6 separate regions of the Homo sapiens genome follow, and regions 1, 2, 4, 5 and 6 are each linked to region 3. The links are contacts of gene promoters, found by promoter capture Hi-C in blood cells and fetal thymus (Javierre and others, 2016). All regions are on one chromosome and are shown on one strand. Each heading gives the region's core, a stretch centred on a gene start or on the middle of the fragment in contact. The rest is flanking DNA. Distances are from core to core; before and after follow the strand shown.

Region 1 (2,700 bases), core at 176-2,675, 250 kb after region 3:
AAGTGCTGAGATTACAGGCATGAGCCACCACACCTAGCCTATATATGGAATTTCTTATGGGAACTCTTATGTGAAGTATTAATGTATGTCAAATTCAAATTGCAAAATGTACTAGATATTTTCAATCCTTAGCCTCCTTAACAAAGATTTCAGCTTACAGGACAAATTGCAGAAAATCTTGGAGAAGAAGAGCAGTTGGTCCAAGGCTTATGTGCCCTTTTGTTGGGCATTTCGATTTATTTCAATGATAACTCACTTGAGAGCTACATGAAGTAAGTAAGGGGAAGATGGTTTTCTAATGGCATCAAGAGATAATGATGCTTTTTTTTTTTTTTTGCCAAAGCATTATGTAGACCAAGCTTTTATGTTTTGTTTTGATTTTATTTTTTTTAAAGCATCTCAATATGCTTATCTCCGTAGAGAGAAGCTAAAACAACTGATTGAGAAGAGGATTGGCAAAGAGAATTTCATAGAGAAACTAGGATTTATTAGCAAACATGAGTTGTATTCCAGAGCATCTCAGAAACCCCAGCCAAACTTTCCCAGTCCAGAATACATGATATTTGATCATGAGTTTACGAAGCTGGTAAAAGAACTTGAAGGTAAGACTGAAGATTTATATTGATATTTGATGGAAAGTAATTATATTTATATTGTACATGTATATTCTGGATGCATACAGGTTATATGGTAACTCTAAAGGTATATTTTCTTCCTAGCTCTTGATCTGTAGCCCATTGAAGGACATTTGGCTTTCAGTAGGATTGAAAAGATTATTTCTTACCTATCATGGAGTTAGGTTATATGTTTTTACTAAGTCTTAGTAGTAAAATAGTATTTAAAACATTTAAAACAAATTTTAAATAAGCTTCCTTTTATAGGTGTTATAACTAAGGCTATTTATAAGTCCAGTGAAGAAGATAAAAAAGAAGAAGAGGTGAAAAAAACATTAGAACAGCATGACAATATTGTGACTCACTACAAAAATATGATTCGAGAGCAGGTAAGTACTAATGAACTGTATATACCCTCTGATTACCAATAGGCACTTTCTGCTTTAAGGGAGCCTTTTTTTCTGACATTTCAAATGAAAGAGGATATAGAAAGCAAAACCCATCATTTTTCAAAGCATCTGAGTATTCAACAAACAGAGTGCTTAATATGTGCTAAGCACCATGCAGCTGATTTATTAGATAATGATGAGTGGATAAAGATGAAACTACAATTGCGGAATCATCAGTTGACATTTTCTTTCCAGGATACCAGTGAACTTTCATTACTTGCATTGTGTTGAGTACCCTAAACCTTCATTATATTCCTTCAAAATGTTTTCTTGACTTTTACTCTCATTTAATTTCTTATGATATTTACCTTGATTGGAATTCTAGAAAGTGCTGAAAAATGAGGTTATTAATGTTGTTAAAATTCCAGTGTCATAAAAAAATACAATAGTGGCAGACCCTGTGGGACAGATTCATCCCCTTCCCTCTACTGCTCTCCACACCTGTCTACTAATTGTGCACAGTTTATGGCAGGTGTGGCAAGTAAAAGCATAGATAGAACCCTTTAAATTGACAACTGTTTATATCTTATTTTCTTCCTCACAATCTACATTACTGAGATTAGTTTGTTTTTTGTTTAGACAGAGTCTTGCTCTTGTTTCCCAGGCTGGAGTGCAGTGGCGCAGTCTCGGCTCACTGCAACCTCCGCCTCCCAGGTTCAAGCAATTCTCTTGCCTCAGCCTCGCAAGTAGCTGGGATTATAGGCGTGTGCCACCACGCTGCCTAATTTTTATATTTTTAGTAGAGATGAGGTTTCACCATGTTGGCTGGTGTTGATCTCCTGACCTCGGGTGATCCCTTCCCTTCCCTGCCTCAGCCTTCCGAAATGCTGGGATTATAGGCATAAGCCAGCGCGCCCAGCCTACTGAGATTAAAATTTTAAGAAAGAATGAAAATATTGTGGTATATTTAGCATTCATTCTAAGCTTTTCAGTTTAAAAGTAAATCAATCAATAAATTATAATCTTAGAATGGTAAAATTTGAATCATCAAACTACCTATGGTTATTAGGATTTTTCATCTATATCTGGGTACAAAGATGGAGCCATTTCCAGTTGCTAAAATGTAATAATATCTTTGGAACAGTGAAAAAAACAAATAGTTGTAATGTGATATAGAGTCTATACTTGGGGCTGCAAATACAGTTGATTTGGCAAAAGAAAAGAGTGATTGACACAATTACTCTAATGACTTCCTTAGAAATGTTCATTTTAAATATTCTTACCATTTAAAATGCTATTTGGCATTAGTCCACAAGCATCTAGAACTATAAAATGTTTATATCCTTTGAATGACATTTGATAATTCATCCTAAGGGAATTCTCCAAAATTCAGGAAAACAATTATATGGACTAAAATATATAATGTAATGAAATTTGTCACTTTGAAAAATGGAAAGCAATATTAAGTAGATGCAATACAATTTATATTCAGTGTTTTTGATGCTGAGGTTGCTTTCCATTTTTCTTTTTCTTTTCTTTTTTTTTTTTTTTTTTTTTTTTTGAGACAGTTTCGCTCTTGTTGCCCAGGCTGGAGTGCAGTGGCTGAGCACGGTGCCTCATGCCTGTAATCCCAGCACTTTGGGAGGCCAAGGTGGGCAGATTACCTGAGGTCGGGAGTTCGAGACCAATCTGACCAA
Region 2 (2,700 bases), core at 178-2,677, 170 kb after region 3:
CACAATTTCAAAGTGAAACTTGAGTATCACTTGCGTATGTTGTATATATAAACTGAAAGGGTCCTTTCTTGTTCTTGCCTAACTTTGAGTATGTACATTTAAAATTGGAAAAGTAATTTGTCTTCTATTTTTTCTTTTTAATCACCTCCACAATAAAGCAATTTGCCTTCTGAAAATTATTATTCTGAGGTACAGTATGAATAAAATTTGTTTCACTATTTCGTTCCACCAGGAAGTACAACAGGTAAAAGGGGTCATGGATTACTAATTTAGAAGTATTTATAGAGCATCAGTGGAGTGTATATACAATTTTAGATGTTTTAATTGATGATTTAGTCTGGCCAGGATATTTGAGTTACCAGAGCTTGGAACCCCTAGCTTCTATATTATCATTTATTATTTTGTAGTTTTTTCCATTTCTGCAAAATTAAATTTTTTTCATGGTGGCTTTCCATCTTTCTTGCTTTTTCTAACATCTTTTTTCCAATGGAAGGGCTCTTTTCTTTGTCTGAATTAGACCTGTTATTTAAATTCATCATCAGCGCCTCCCCTAATCTGTACTTTCCCCCAGCACGTTTCAGATGCTTTTTCCTTTCTGAGCTACCTTTACATTTTAACTACAGTGTGCATATATCTTATTCCTTCTAGACTCTTAAAGTGTCTTTAGGGCAGGGTTCATAATGTATTTTAATCTTTGTTTTTCCACAGTAGTAGATGCCCAGTAAATACTTGTGAAATGAATTAATTATAGTTTTATTTGAAAGAAATCACAGATCTGTAATTATAGCAACTTACGTTACTAGGTACTAAAACACTTTTTAAAGACTAGAAACTGAAGTTCTCAAATGAAGTTCATTGTGTCAAGCTTTTTACTTAAGGGATTTTTTCATATTTACTAAATGCTTTGACTGCTTTCTTGTTTTTTTTTTTCTTATTGAATTTAAGTATCTTTTAAATGTGTGAGAGTTATGTGATTGATTGTATAGTATCTAGCTTTTCATACTCTTAGTTAAGAGTAACTTTGGACTGATATTAAGATGTTCTTCAGGCCGGGGGCTCACGCCTATAATCCCAGCACTTTGGGAGGCCAAGGCAGATGGAGCACTTGAGGTCAGGAGTTTGAGACCAGCCTGGCCAAACTCCTTTCTGGAGTCAAGCACATTTTTATGGTGAAACCCTGTCTCTACTAAAAATACAAAAATTAGCTGGGCATGGTGGCACATGCCTATAATCTCAGCTACTCAGGAGGCTGAGGCAGGAGAATCGAGGCGGTGGTTGGCAGTGAGCAACCACTGAGTGGTTAAGATTGTGCCACTGCATTCCAGCCTGGGCGAGAGAGCGAGACTGTCTCAAAAAGAAAGATGTTCTTGAGAACCTGTCAAGTAGTAAATATTTTATCATAGGATAGTCAATTCTATAAAGTACTGGATATTTTAAATTCAGAATTTCATCCACATTAAACTTTTTCTGTTTTAGAGTCATGTACTTTTGTTTTTGTTTTTGTTTTGTTTTGTTTTGAGACAGAGTCTCGCTCTGTGGCCCAGGCTGGAGTGCAGTGGCGCAATCTTGGCTCACTGCAAGCTCCCCCTCCCGGGTTCACGCCATTCTTCTGCCTCAGCCTCCCAAGTAGCTGGGACTACAGGTGTCTGCCACCACACCGGCTAATTTTTGTATTTTTAGTGGAGATGGGGTTTCACCGTGTTAACCAGGATGGTCTCGATCTCCTGACTTCGTGATCCGCCTGCCTTGGCCTCCCAAAGTGCTGGAATTACAGGTGTGAGCCACGGCACCTGGCCCCAGAGTCGGGTACTTTTACATTTCATTTCTCTTTTTTACTTGACACTGATTTCTGGTGATTGAAGCCTCTTTAGCCTTGACACAGTTTGCTGGGTGCATATTATTATAGTACAAATCCTACTCATGCTTTTGTTTTTTAGTTTTCTCTTTTTCCCTAACCACTAGACCACCAGGGACTTCATGCTTTTGAATGTAAGCTTATGTGTGCTTAGTGTTATATCTGCCTTCTATCTAGCACCTTTTTTTTGGGTAGGGGGGTGGGGTACGAAGTCTCGCTCTGTCGCCCAGGCTGGAGTGCAGTGACGTAATCTCGGCTCACTGCAGCCTCCGCCTCCTGGGTTCAAGCAGTTCTCCTGGCTCAGTCTCCCGAGCAGCTGGGACTACAGGTGCACGCCACCACGCCAGGCTAATTTTTTTGTATTTTAGTAGAGACAGGGTTGCACTGTGATGCCCAGGCTGGTCTTGAACTCCTGAGCTCAGGCAGTCTGCCCGCCTCGGCCTCTCAAAGTGCTAGGATTATAGGCGTGAGCCACTGCGCCCAGCCCCCAACTTGTACCTTTTTTAAAGCTAGTTTCTTGAAAATTCCAAGCAAGTGTTAACTACATTTGATGATGAATCATAGAGGCATTTTCTGTTCTCAAGTTGGACCCCGAGACATGAAAGTTGCTAATGTCCAGAAAAAGCATACAGAATTAGAACATTGTTATGGGGTCTCTTTCCAGATCAAACTTTCATCAGCTGTCTCAGAAAGCAGAAGGGCTAACAATATAAACACAGCCATATTTTCTTTTAATAAAAATTGTTATTAAAGAGTGTGGACTTAAATTTAGACATAGTTTTCGTTTAGTCAAGCACATTTTATACCATGTTACTATAAATGTGTAGTCTGAAATTCCTATTTGG
Region 3 (2,700 bases), core at 98-2,597:
TGTCAATTATCTCCTTGATATGAAACCAACTAAGTGGCCATCGACCAACGAGTGGATAAAGAAAATGTGGTAGAAATACACCATGGAATACTACTCAGCCATAAAAAAATGAAATAATGTCTTTTGCAGCAACTTGGATGGAGCTGGAGGCCATTATTCCAAGTTAAGTAACTCAGGAATGGAAAACCAAATATCGTATGTTCTCACTTATACGTGGGAGCTGAGCTATGAGGACACAAAGACATACAGAATGATATAATGGACTTTAGAGGCTAGGGGTGGGGGAGGTTGGGAAGGAGGTGAGGGATAAAAGACTACATATTGGGTGCAGTGTACACTGCTCGGGTGACGAGTGCACTAAAATCTCAGAGTTCGCCACCATAGAGTCCATCCATGTAACCCAAAACCACTCGTACCCCAAAAGATTGAAATTTAAAAAAAATTTTTTTTAAAAGCATCTCCTTAATTCACAAATTCCTCTGAGGGTAGTACCACAAGTCCCATTTTACAGGTGAGGCCCCTGAGGCTTCAGCAAGTCTCAGGGACTCACCACAGTCACTCAGCTAGTAAGAAAAGGAACAAAGACTGGAATTTTACCTGACTCCAAGGTCCATGTTCTTAATCACCTGTGACAATCCCCTCTCATATATCCAGCAGCTGATGAAGTCTTTCTCTCAGGAAACCAACTGGACATAGACATGTCATGTCCATTTTATATGCAATATGGTGAATCAGGAGGAGCCGTGAAAGGACGACTCACTAAGTTACTCTCCCAATGTTTATGTTTGTTTAGACAGTGACCATCATGACCACTAGGGAAGATCACTTTCTGATTCTGCTGCCCTCACCTCCTGGACAAAAGCAGAGCAGAGAAGCAGCATAAACCCTGGTTGGGGGCCTAAGAATGATCCCCAACTCTCCACTGCAAACCACCGGGGTCAGGAAGCCTCCGGGTAATGCCCTCTCCCTCTTGTTTCGCTTTTTAAGTAGGTAAGCTGCACAGAGAGAAGCACTGTTGCATATTTCTGGACAGCTTATTTCTCTTGCAGAGGAAGACTGATATACACAACTAAAAGGCACTAACATGGGAGAAGATTTGAGAGATTAGAAGGATGGTGAAGGTGCGGTTGTCCAAAATCCCCCTCTGGGGGGAGATGATTGATATCTGGCTGTCATTCCAAGAAGCTTCTGGTTGACAAATACTGTCTGGTATTTCCTTGCTGATTTCTTACCCTCACACCGCAAGCCCTGATCTCTGTGGTCCACTGTGCAAATGCAAATTACCTGAATCAGGCTGCTGGTGACTCACCAGCTCCCCTTTAAAGCAACATCAGGTTCAACGCAGTGACTGCTCAGTAGAAGCCATGGCTCGCAGACACTGCTTCTCCTACTGGTTACTGGTATGCTGGTTGGTGGTAACTGTGGCAGAAGGTAAGGGTTTTGCTTTTATTCTACTGTGGGTCCACTAATTAATAAGTTGTAGGAAAAGACAAAACTGGCTCCATGATTATACGTTCCCATAAATTGGAAATATTTACCTCAGCTTCCATCAGCCTGTGTGGTTAAAGAGAAGGAAGTTGGATTTTGTCACCTGAAGACCTTGGTCCTCGTCTCAGCAATAGCTCTGTGACTTTAGACACACTTAAAATCTCTGAGTATCAGATTCCTCATATGTGAAGTGACAACATTAACAATATCCATCGTTATGGGGTTTGCAAGGACCAAATGAGCTATCATCTGTGAAAAACTCTTCAAGCTAAAAACACTGTACAAATACTAGTTATTATGGTTACAAAGCTAACAATTCCACTTTGAATTACAGCACTGTCCACTTTCTATCTCCAGCAGCATATTAATTTGCACATGGTGGGTATTTAGTCTTTGTTCATTGCTTTAATTAATCACATCTATTGAGCTGCATTTTGGTGCCACAGAGGTGGGCACAGGTTTCTTTCTTTAGGATTTTATTAGATTCCATTTCTCAACTGTTCCTATTCTCTTTCTTTGTTCCCACTACAAAATGTGTCCTGAGCCTTACAATTGGTTTGCAAACCCCTAGGAAAAGGAAAGAAAAGGCTGGGGAAGGGATGAAAAGAGGGAAATACAAGGGGAGGAAATCTTGGGGAGCCTAGATCTAACCTTTTCTTCAGTTTATTTTAATTCCAAAACTAGATGCTGTTTACGGAAGATGGACCTAGGAGTCAAACAGAGCACTTCACCCCTTTCACATGTCTTGGGTAGGGGGCTTTGCAGGGGCTCAGCCAAACCCTGCTCATCCCCAGACAGATTCCCCGTTCCCATCCCTCAGAGCTCACAATAGACAGGAGGAGGGGAGAGACATAAGAGCTGGTTGTGGAACACTCAGAAACCCCCTGATCCAACCTCTGCACACACTCTGGCAATCAGGGGACAGGGCATAGATTATGAACAAAACCTGCCCCCATATCCCAAGGCAAGGCCCCCAAGCCTCACCTACTAAAAGTGACATCTAAAAGAAGCATCATAAAACAAAACTAGCCACCTGCCACTTTCTCTGCAAAAAGTGAACCGCTCTTCAGGAGGCTTTGTAAACACATAGCTAAACAAGTTATAATGAGATTAGAGATTTATTTTATTCACATCTTAAAAACACCCACTGAGGCTGGGTACAGTGGCTCACACCTGTAATCCCAGCATTTTGGGAGGCCGAGGTGGGCAGAT
Region 4 (2,700 bases), core at 1-2,500, 210 kb after region 3:
CAGACTGGGCGACAGTGCGAGACTCCGTCTCAAAACAAAAACAACAAAAAAAGTATACATGTACCTGTTTAATTAACTACCAGTATAAACGAAGATTATTTGATATTTCTTCACTCTGAGGACTGATTTTATTAGGATATCTCCTTTTATAAAGCAATTTCTTTTCTTCATAATATAGATTGTGAACTTAGTATAGAATAGAATTCCAAAGAGAAGATCCAGAAATGTTTTTAAATATTGTTTACACCTCTGGAAAAAGTACTACTAGAAATACATTTGAAGAGTAAATATATCTATGCATGCGTACTTAAATGCCAGCCATATAAACAGGCCTGAAAACTATCCAGAGCTATACAGACAGATGATGGTTCAACTTCACGATTTTTTGATTTACGATGGTGTGAAAGCAATATACATTCAGTAGAATCTATACTTCGAATACCCATACAACCATTCTGTTTTTTCACCTTCAGTACAGTATTCAGTAAATTACATGAGATAATACTTTATTATAAAATATGATTTCTGTTATATTTTGCCTAGCTGTAGGATAATGTAAGTGTTCTGGGCACATTTAAAGTAGGTTAAACATATTAAATACATTTTCAACCTATGATATTTTCAGTTTTTGATGGGCTTATCAGGACATAACCCCATTGTAAATTGAGGAGCATCTGTGTAAGTACTTAGAACGGGCATTTTTTTATTTTACATTCCTATATTAAATTTATTTTTACTATGGTAACAAAGGGCCATTTCATTTTTATCTTATTTTTTTCATTTACCTTACAATAAATGGTCATTTACAGGTTATAAATGCACAATATAATATATAAACTATAGGCTATAAAAAACTTAGCTATAAAGGTTGTAATCTAATGATTAATGATGAGAGAAGATGGTTTACTTGTTTCATGCCTTTGCTTACACGTATAATTGGTATAATTTCTCATGGTTCTAGTTTTTGTTCACAACTTTTAGATATTAGTGTAGTAGTTTATAGTAGTTTGTAGCTTAATTTACTGCTACACTTAAAGCTTTGTGTATTACCTTAATTGCTTAGCTAATTTGGGGATACTTCATTAAAGTTCAGAAGTGCTGTCTTATGACTGTAACTTAAAAGAAATGGCGTATATCTCACACTTTTTCAAATTGACAGTGTTAAACCAGAAGGAACCATTGATCCTTGTAATAGGACCATATTTTACTAGTTCAGTTCAAAATGTAAATTTTAATTCTATACTGATAAGCTACAGCATATTATACAATATAGCTACAGAATAAATTAAAGATATTAACTCTACTTCTTCCTAAGTTATTTGCTTGTGCCCAGTGCAAACACTGAATTAAACTTTTTCTGGTATTAGACCTGACTTCCTTAAAGCATAGCACAGAAGTTCTAGAGAGTGTTCTGTATTAAAACGGGTTCATAGTTAAATAAACATAAATACTATATTCCCCTCTGAAGCTTCATAAAATTTACACTGGTGTAGTAAGTGCTGAGAAGCCTGCAGTGAAAAATCTTGTTCAACTTTGTTTAATCCAAATATATTTGTCCACAGGGGCTTAGTTCTGCCATGTACCTATTAACATGCCACACTATCCTTTGTTTTGAAATATACTAACCAAGGCTTGGTTAGTTGTTTATGTTTACATATGTAAAAATATTTCAACATTTTAAAATACATTTTAGGGGAAGAATCCATCAAGTCTATATGTGGTTTTTTTTCTTCCTTTTTAGATTAGTTTATAATTTTTAATGTTTTCCCAAATGTCAATAACTATAATTTTTAGCTTTTCTCATGAGGTCACAAACTTTTGGCCCAAGGGCATTGTCTATCTTGTAAGCAAGGCTGTTTGACCCACATAGTATTTTAAGTAAGGTGAATAAGTTGCCACTATTATAAATTGGGAGCTTGTGTCAACGTTTGTATTTTAGACTTCTTTTTGAAAAAACCTGAAGATTGGCAATACCTGGATCTGCATTCCTACATGGCAACAGGCAGCTGGAGTTGAGTAACTGCTGTTTTCCTTAGACAGAGCATATACTCCCCATCCTCTAATGTTAGCCTGCTTCACTCACTCACATTACTGTCTTTTGTTTGTAGTCAAGTTTTCATTCTCTGCTATCTTCACACCACTGAGATAAAAAATAATTATGCTATAAATTACTTTCAAACGCATGATTTTTAAAGTTATATATCTCATTCAACAAATATGAATATATGCAAATGGAAACTAGCCCTACAAAGCACCCATGACTAAGTTAATATTGCTGTGATTTTAATTTCTTGAGGGAGACAATTCTGAGAGAATATTACTTGTCTTTTGAACATAGATTTCTCATGTATTTGGAGAATAATTTATTTGACATGCATTCCCAATGGGCCCTTTTTGTATAATTTCTTTATCTGCTTTTTTATCTATACAGTTTCACTAGAATTTGGCTAACATCTCCATGATTTGTTAGGGTTCTGGGGTGGCTTAAAAAACAAGGTAGGCTCATTAGCCCACCAGCTCTTGTGAGATTTTATTGGGTATGTAACATTTACCATACTGTGGGAATCAGGACTTCTGTTCATAGCTGATTCTAAAGATGAAAGCTTTCAAAAGATTCTACCAGCTCCCAAGTTCCCATTATCTTTTCCAATTTTTTCACAGTCTCCTTTTCCATCATCCTGTCAGTTTGTAAATAAAATG
Region 5 (2,700 bases), core at 66-2,565, 230 kb after region 3:
AAGCCTGGAAGACAGCACATCTATGTAATAGCATGATTTACTGAGCACACATTTACTGAACACACATCTCTTACACTTCTGTGTAAGAGCATGGTTTTCTAGGCCCAGTGCATTAGAAAAAACGATTTTCAAAATATTACTTCTCATTGACAATGCACCTGATCACGCAAGAGCTCTGATGGAGATGTAAAAAGAGAATAATACTGTTTTCTTTTTTTTTGAGATGGAGTCTCGCACTGTCACTTGGGCTGGTGTGTAGTGGTGTGATCTCGGCTCACTGCCACCTCTGCCTCCTAGGTTCAAGCAATTCTCCTGCCTCAGCCTCCTGAGTAGCTAACATTACAGGCACCCACTACTGTGCCCGGCTAATTTTTTGTATTTTTTTTTTTAGTAGAGATGGGGCTTCACTATGTTGGCCAGGCTGATCTTGAACTCCTGACCTCATGATTCGCCCACGTGGCCTCCCAAAGTGCTGGGATTACAGACGTGAGCCACTGTGCCCAGCCAATAATATTGTTTTCATACTGTTAACACAACATGCATTTTGCAGCCCATGGATCAAGGATAAATTTTGACTTTTTTTTTTTTTTTTTTTTTTTTTGAGATGGAGTCTCACTCTGTCCCCCAGGCTGGAATGCAGTGGTACAATCTCGGCTCATTGCAGCCTCTGCCTCCCAGGTTCAAGCAATTCTCGTACCTCAGCCTCGTGAGTAGCTGGGATTACAGGTATGCACCACCATGCCCAGCTAATTTTTGTAATTTATTAGAGACAGGGTTTCACCATGTTGGCCAGGCTGGCCTTGAACTCCTGACCTCAAGTGATCCATCCACCTCAGCCTCCCAAAGTGCTGGGATTACAGGTGTGAGTCACTGCACCCAGCAATTTTGACTTTCAAGTCTTAATATTTAAGAAATACATTTCATAAGGCTATAGCTACATAGATAGTGATTTCTGTAACGCATCTGGGCAAAGTAAATTGAAAACTTTCTGGAAACGATTTGCCATTCTAGATACCATTAAGAACATTTGTAATTCATGGGAAGTCAAAATACCAAGATTTACAGGAGTTTGGAAGAAGTTGATTCCGGCAACCCTCATGGATGACTTGGAGGGGTTCAAGACTTTAGTGGAGGAACCAACTGAAGATGTGGTATAAATAACAGGAGAATTAGAAGTGGAGCCTGAAAATGTGATTGAATTTTTGCAATCTCATGATCAAACTTCAACAGATGAGGGGTTATTACTTATGGATGAGCAAAGAAGGTGGTGAAGATGCTGTGAACATTGGTGAAATGACAACAAAGGATTTAGAATATTACATCAACTTAGTTGATAAAGCAGTGTCAGGGTTTGAGAGAATTGACTCCAGTTTTGAAAGAATTTCTACTGGAAGTAAAATGACTCACTGAAGACTCAGGTGGTCATTAGCATTTTTTTAGCAATGAAATATTTTTAAATTAAGTTATGTACATTCTTTGGACATGATGCTATTGCACACTTAATAAATTACATTATAGTGTAAATGTAACTTTTGTATACACTAAGAAACCAAAAAATTTGTGGGACTGACTTGATTGTGATACTTGCTTTATTGCAGAAGTCTAGAACCAATAAGTAGATGTCTGTGTAGAGAAACTCTATTTGTACTTACTTTTTCTATAAGCCTAAAACTGCTCTAAAAAATGATGTCTTTTTAAAAAAAAAATAATTTATTTTTGTCAACATACAGCTCAACTATTAGGAATAAAAGTGTTGATGTACCAGATGAGCTTACTTGTCGTTACGTACAGCATCCAGCATCAGTCAATATGTTTATCAGAAGAAACGGAGGCTATTGGTTAATCTATTAGTACTTGGTAAAGTAGAGATCAATTGGAGAGTTTTCACTGTGATAATAGTGAAAGCTGTAGTGTGGATGAAACTGCCCTGGAGAGTATATGCTGTAAACAAAGAAGAAAAAGGATAAAACCATGGAGGACAGAAACAATGAAAGATTGAGCACCTGCAGAGCTGTAAGGAAAATCAAGAGAGCATAATGTTTTAGAAATCAAGGGAAGTTTCAAGGAAGAGACAAACCGACAATGTTAAGAGCTTCTTAGAGATCAAATAAGATATGGTTGATTCATTCAACAAATGTTTAATAGTTAAGTACTGTGTATATACATGATATCATGTCTCTGTCTCTGCTAAAGATACAGAGGTAAGTAGACTGTTCACAAGCGTTTGTGAATTATAATCTAGTGGAGAAGACAAACACTACCTAATAATAAAAGGAGAAGGCTACTGTAAGAGCATGTAGCTGGTGACGCTAACCTAGTCCTGTAGTCTTGGTAATCATTCCTGAAGAAATGATGTTTAAGCTGGGATTTGAAGATAAACAATGAGTTACTAAGGCGATTGGTTACTTGACATAGAAGTCAAGAGATCTTTGGGGTACCTGAGAAAGAGCATGCAGGTTATGGCCTGTGGCCATCAGGTGTCAGAGCAGACTGTCTATCTGCCTGGCCATATTGAAGAGATGCTGAGCATGGAGATTTATCTTTTTAAAAATGTTTGGGAGTTTTGCGTCAGGTTTTACGAGCCTTAACGCTTGTGTTTTACATTATTTCCCCAGGTATAGTAGTTGAAGATTGTTTGATTTTGCTCCAAAACTTATTAAAAAACAACAACTCCAATCAAAATTTTTTTAAAGAAGGCTC
Region 6 (2,700 bases), core at 1-2,500, 150 kb after region 3:
GACAATTATCAGTTTTTAAGTTTTTGCTATAAAGGATCATTAATGGTTAGCTTTATTATAATCCGGTGGTTTAACAAATCAATGTAGAAAAATGTTGATTGGGCCTTAGTCCTGTCAAAGATAAATTTTATGAAATTAAAATGAACTTGCATTTTTCAAACTTTGTGGCATTTACTTAGAGCAGAACTGGATTTACTGAAAGCAGAATATATTATTCAATATTACACATTAATTTTCAGAATAAAAATGTAAACATTAATTTAATTAACTCATTGGGTTTTTTAAACTACTGTTACTACAAATGACCTGCTTTTCAGCCAATATATACATAAAATGAGATTTATTTCATAGTAAATTCCATGTATATGTAATTAACAGACCCTCTATAACCAACTATGTGCATCGACAAAGTGTTACTTACTGTGCTGTGTGCTGAAATGGTTGCCCTCTGCTAGAGGGATAGGTATTGCCTTAGGGAAGTACCCTTTTCAATTTCAAACCAGAAAACTAGGAACTGTCAGGGAAGGTGTTAAGAAGGCTGTCAGGACCTTTTCCTTGCCCTGTCTCTTGGCCTAGTCTTGAGGAATCTAGGTGAATACCCTTCTTCCCCACTAGACTTGGCTCTTACAAAGAACTTGGCAAACATGTTTTGTTCTACTCTAGCCCCTACCATCAAGCCTGGCTAATGATTCCTTGGATGCTGGGAGTAAAGAGGGCCCAGTATGCATGAATAGCCCAAGACCTAGGAAGACAGGGATCCCCGTGAGCTGCAGAGGGTAAACAAATTCTATAAGCCACATGATCTTGATTGACGTCACTCTCACTCATAGAATTTATTTCTCCTAGCAGCTAGAACCCAGCTCAGCTGTAGACTAGATAATAATTCACAGCAACTGGTCCACAGCCTTAAAGGGGGAAGCAGTGCCTCCTAGAGGCAATTATGCTGGTGGAAGCAGTAATTTGTGAGACCTGAGGAGATGGTCCATACATCTTGGGGAATACAATAATGATAATATGGTCCGGTTGAACCTCTCCACTGGGATCTTCTCCATTAAGTTACAAAGTTTGGGCTGGGCATGGTGGCTCATGCCTGTAGTCCCAGCACTTTGGGAGGCCAAGGCAGGAGGATCGCTTGCACTGAGGAGTTTGAGATCAGCCTGGGCAGCAGAGTGAGACTCTCTACAAAAATAAAAAACAAAAATAGCTGGGTCCAGGCACAGTGGCTCATGCCTGTAATCCCAGTACTTTGGGAAGCCAAGGCAGGAGGACTGCTTGAGCCCAGGAATTCAAGAACAGCCTGGGCAACATGGTGAAACCCTGTCTATAAAAAATACAAAAAAATAGCCAGGCATGGTGGCGCACACTTGTAGTTTCAGGTACTTGGGAGGCCGAGGTGGGAGAATAACCTGAGTCCAGGAGTTGGGAGCTAAAGTGAGTCATAACCAGTCACTGCACTCCAGCCTGGGCAACAGAGAGAACTTGTCTGAAACAATAACAACAACAACAAAACAACCAGCCAGGCAGGGCATGGTGGCTCACACCTGTAATCCCAGCACTTTGGGAGGCTGAGGCAGGGGGATCACAAGGTCAGGAGTTAGAGGCCAGCCCGGCCAAGATGGTGAAACCCTATCTCTACTAAAAATACAAAAATTAGCCAGGTGCGGTGGTTGGCCCCTGTAATCTCAGCTACTCAGGAGGCTGAGGAAGGAGAATCGCTTGAACCCTGGAGGCAGAGGTTGCAGTGAGCTGAGATTGCACCACCACACTCCAGCCTGGGCAACAGGGTGAGACTCCGTCTCAAAAAAAAAAAAAAAAAAAAAAACCTACTACGAAAAAAACCGACCAGCCAGGTGTAGTAGCACATGCCTATAGTCTCAACTACTCTGTAGGCTGAGGTACAACGATTGCTGGAGCCCAGGAGGTAGAGGCTGTAGTGAGCCATGATCATGCCACTGCACTCCAGCCTGGGCAACAGAGCAAGACTCTATCTCAGAAAGAAAGAAAAAGGAAGGAAGGAAGGATTGATTTGTGGTTTCATTTTTATTTAAAGAATGCAGTTGTGTGTGTGTGGTGGGGCGGGTTTCAGAGATGGGGTTAGGGGGTCGTGTCTCATTATGTTGCCCAGGCTGGACTCTAACTCCTGGGCTCAAGGGATCCTTCCACCTCAGCCTCTGGAGTAGCTAGGACTACAGGCACACATCACTGCACCCAGCTCAAATAATGCAGTTTTTTACAGTATCATCTATTCCAAGGGTTGCTAACCTGTTCCCTTCAACTCCATCAACTCACTCTGGGTCCTCACTTGGGTAAGAATAGACCAGCTCTGATGGCCCTTGGCTTGAATTTATTGAAAGGGTATAGACTAAGGTCAGCTAATTCCATTTAATGGGAAAAAAGAGCTTATTGAACATATGACCACATACTAGGTAATGTAATGTGCTAGGTACCAAGCTATTACTGAATGTTAATGATACCTTCTATAAATGACAAGGTGTGGGATGTGTTTGGACTGCTTTATTTTTTCTAGGGACAGAGTCTCACTATGTTACCAAAGCTGGTCTTGAATTCCTGGGCTCAAGCAATCCTCCTGCCTTGACCTCCCAAAGTGCTGGGATTACAGATGTGAGTACCACACCCAGCCTGCTTCTCGAGTTGGTGGATGACGACATGAGAAACCAAGAGGACTGTCTCTCCTTGTCT

Evidence for each region. Contacts are between HindIII fragments. The CHiCAGO score rates a contact against its expected background, and 5 or more counts as called.
Region 1: a contact is called between a fragment that was not itself captured here and the fragment with the promoter of ODAPH in region 3, in 8 of 17 cell types (total CD8 T cells, activated CD4 T cells, naive CD8 T cells and 5 more). The highest score is 7.6, in total CD8 T cells.
Region 2: a fragment that was not itself captured here is called in contact with the fragment with the promoter of ODAPH in region 3 in 2 of 17 cell types (naive CD8 T cells and total CD8 T cells); the score reaches 5.7 in naive CD8 T cells.
Region 4: a contact is called between a fragment that was not itself captured here and the fragment with the promoter of ODAPH in region 3, in 1 of 17 cell types (naive CD8 T cells). The highest score is 5.3, in naive CD8 T cells.
Region 5: a fragment that was not itself captured here is called in contact with the fragment with the promoter of ODAPH in region 3 in 2 of 17 cell types (neutrophils and activated CD4 T cells); the score reaches 5.5 in neutrophils.
Region 6: a contact is called between a fragment that was not itself captured here and the fragment with the promoter of ODAPH in region 3, in 6 of 17 cell types (total CD8 T cells, naive CD8 T cells, activated CD4 T cells and 3 more). The highest score is 6.9, in total CD8 T cells.

Annotation. Positions count from the first base shown.
Region 1 is chr4:75,800,198-75,802,897 of GRCh38, forward strand. USO1 (USO1 vesicle transport factor) reads left to right here. Exons shown (of 24, transcript NM_003715.4): 15 at 154-272; 16 at 421-602; 17 at 882-1,003. Among named protein-coding and RNA genes, the nearest start is that of USO1, 77 kb to the left of the region's middle. The HindIII fragment of the contact is 1,119 bases long and covers 867-1,985 here.
Region 2 is chr4:75,727,300-75,729,999 of GRCh38, forward strand. All of the region lies in intron 1 of USO1 (USO1 vesicle transport factor), which reads left to right. Among named protein-coding and RNA genes, the nearest start is that of USO1, 4.1 kb to the left of the region's middle. The HindIII fragment of the contact is 1,129 bases long and covers 864-1,992 here.
Region 3 is chr4:75,554,719-75,557,418 of GRCh38, forward strand. ODAPH (odontogenesis associated phosphoprotein) reads left to right here and starts at 1,348. Exons shown (of 2, transcript NM_178497.5): 1 at 1,348-1,431. The coding sequence starts at 1,365. RefSeq lists a silencer at 1,081-1,375. The HindIII fragment of the contact is 3,725 bases long and covers 1,184-2,700 here.
Region 4 is chr4:75,762,897-75,765,596 of GRCh38, forward strand. All of the region lies in intron 4 of USO1 (USO1 vesicle transport factor), which reads left to right. Among named protein-coding and RNA genes, the nearest start is that of USO1, 40 kb to the left of the region's middle. The HindIII fragment of the contact is 431 bases long and covers 1,036-1,466 here.
Region 5 is chr4:75,780,065-75,782,764 of GRCh38, forward strand. USO1 (USO1 vesicle transport factor) reads left to right here. Exons shown (of 24, transcript NM_003715.4): 9 at 2,616-2,700. Among named protein-coding and RNA genes, the nearest start is that of USO1, 57 kb to the left of the region's middle. The HindIII fragment of the contact is 4,054 bases long and covers 1-2,700 here.
Region 6 is chr4:75,707,621-75,710,320 of GRCh38, forward strand. It overlaps a transcript of G3BP2 not described here. Among named protein-coding and RNA genes, the nearest start is that of USO1, 16 kb to the right of the region's middle. The HindIII fragment of the contact is 6,765 bases long and covers 1-2,700 here.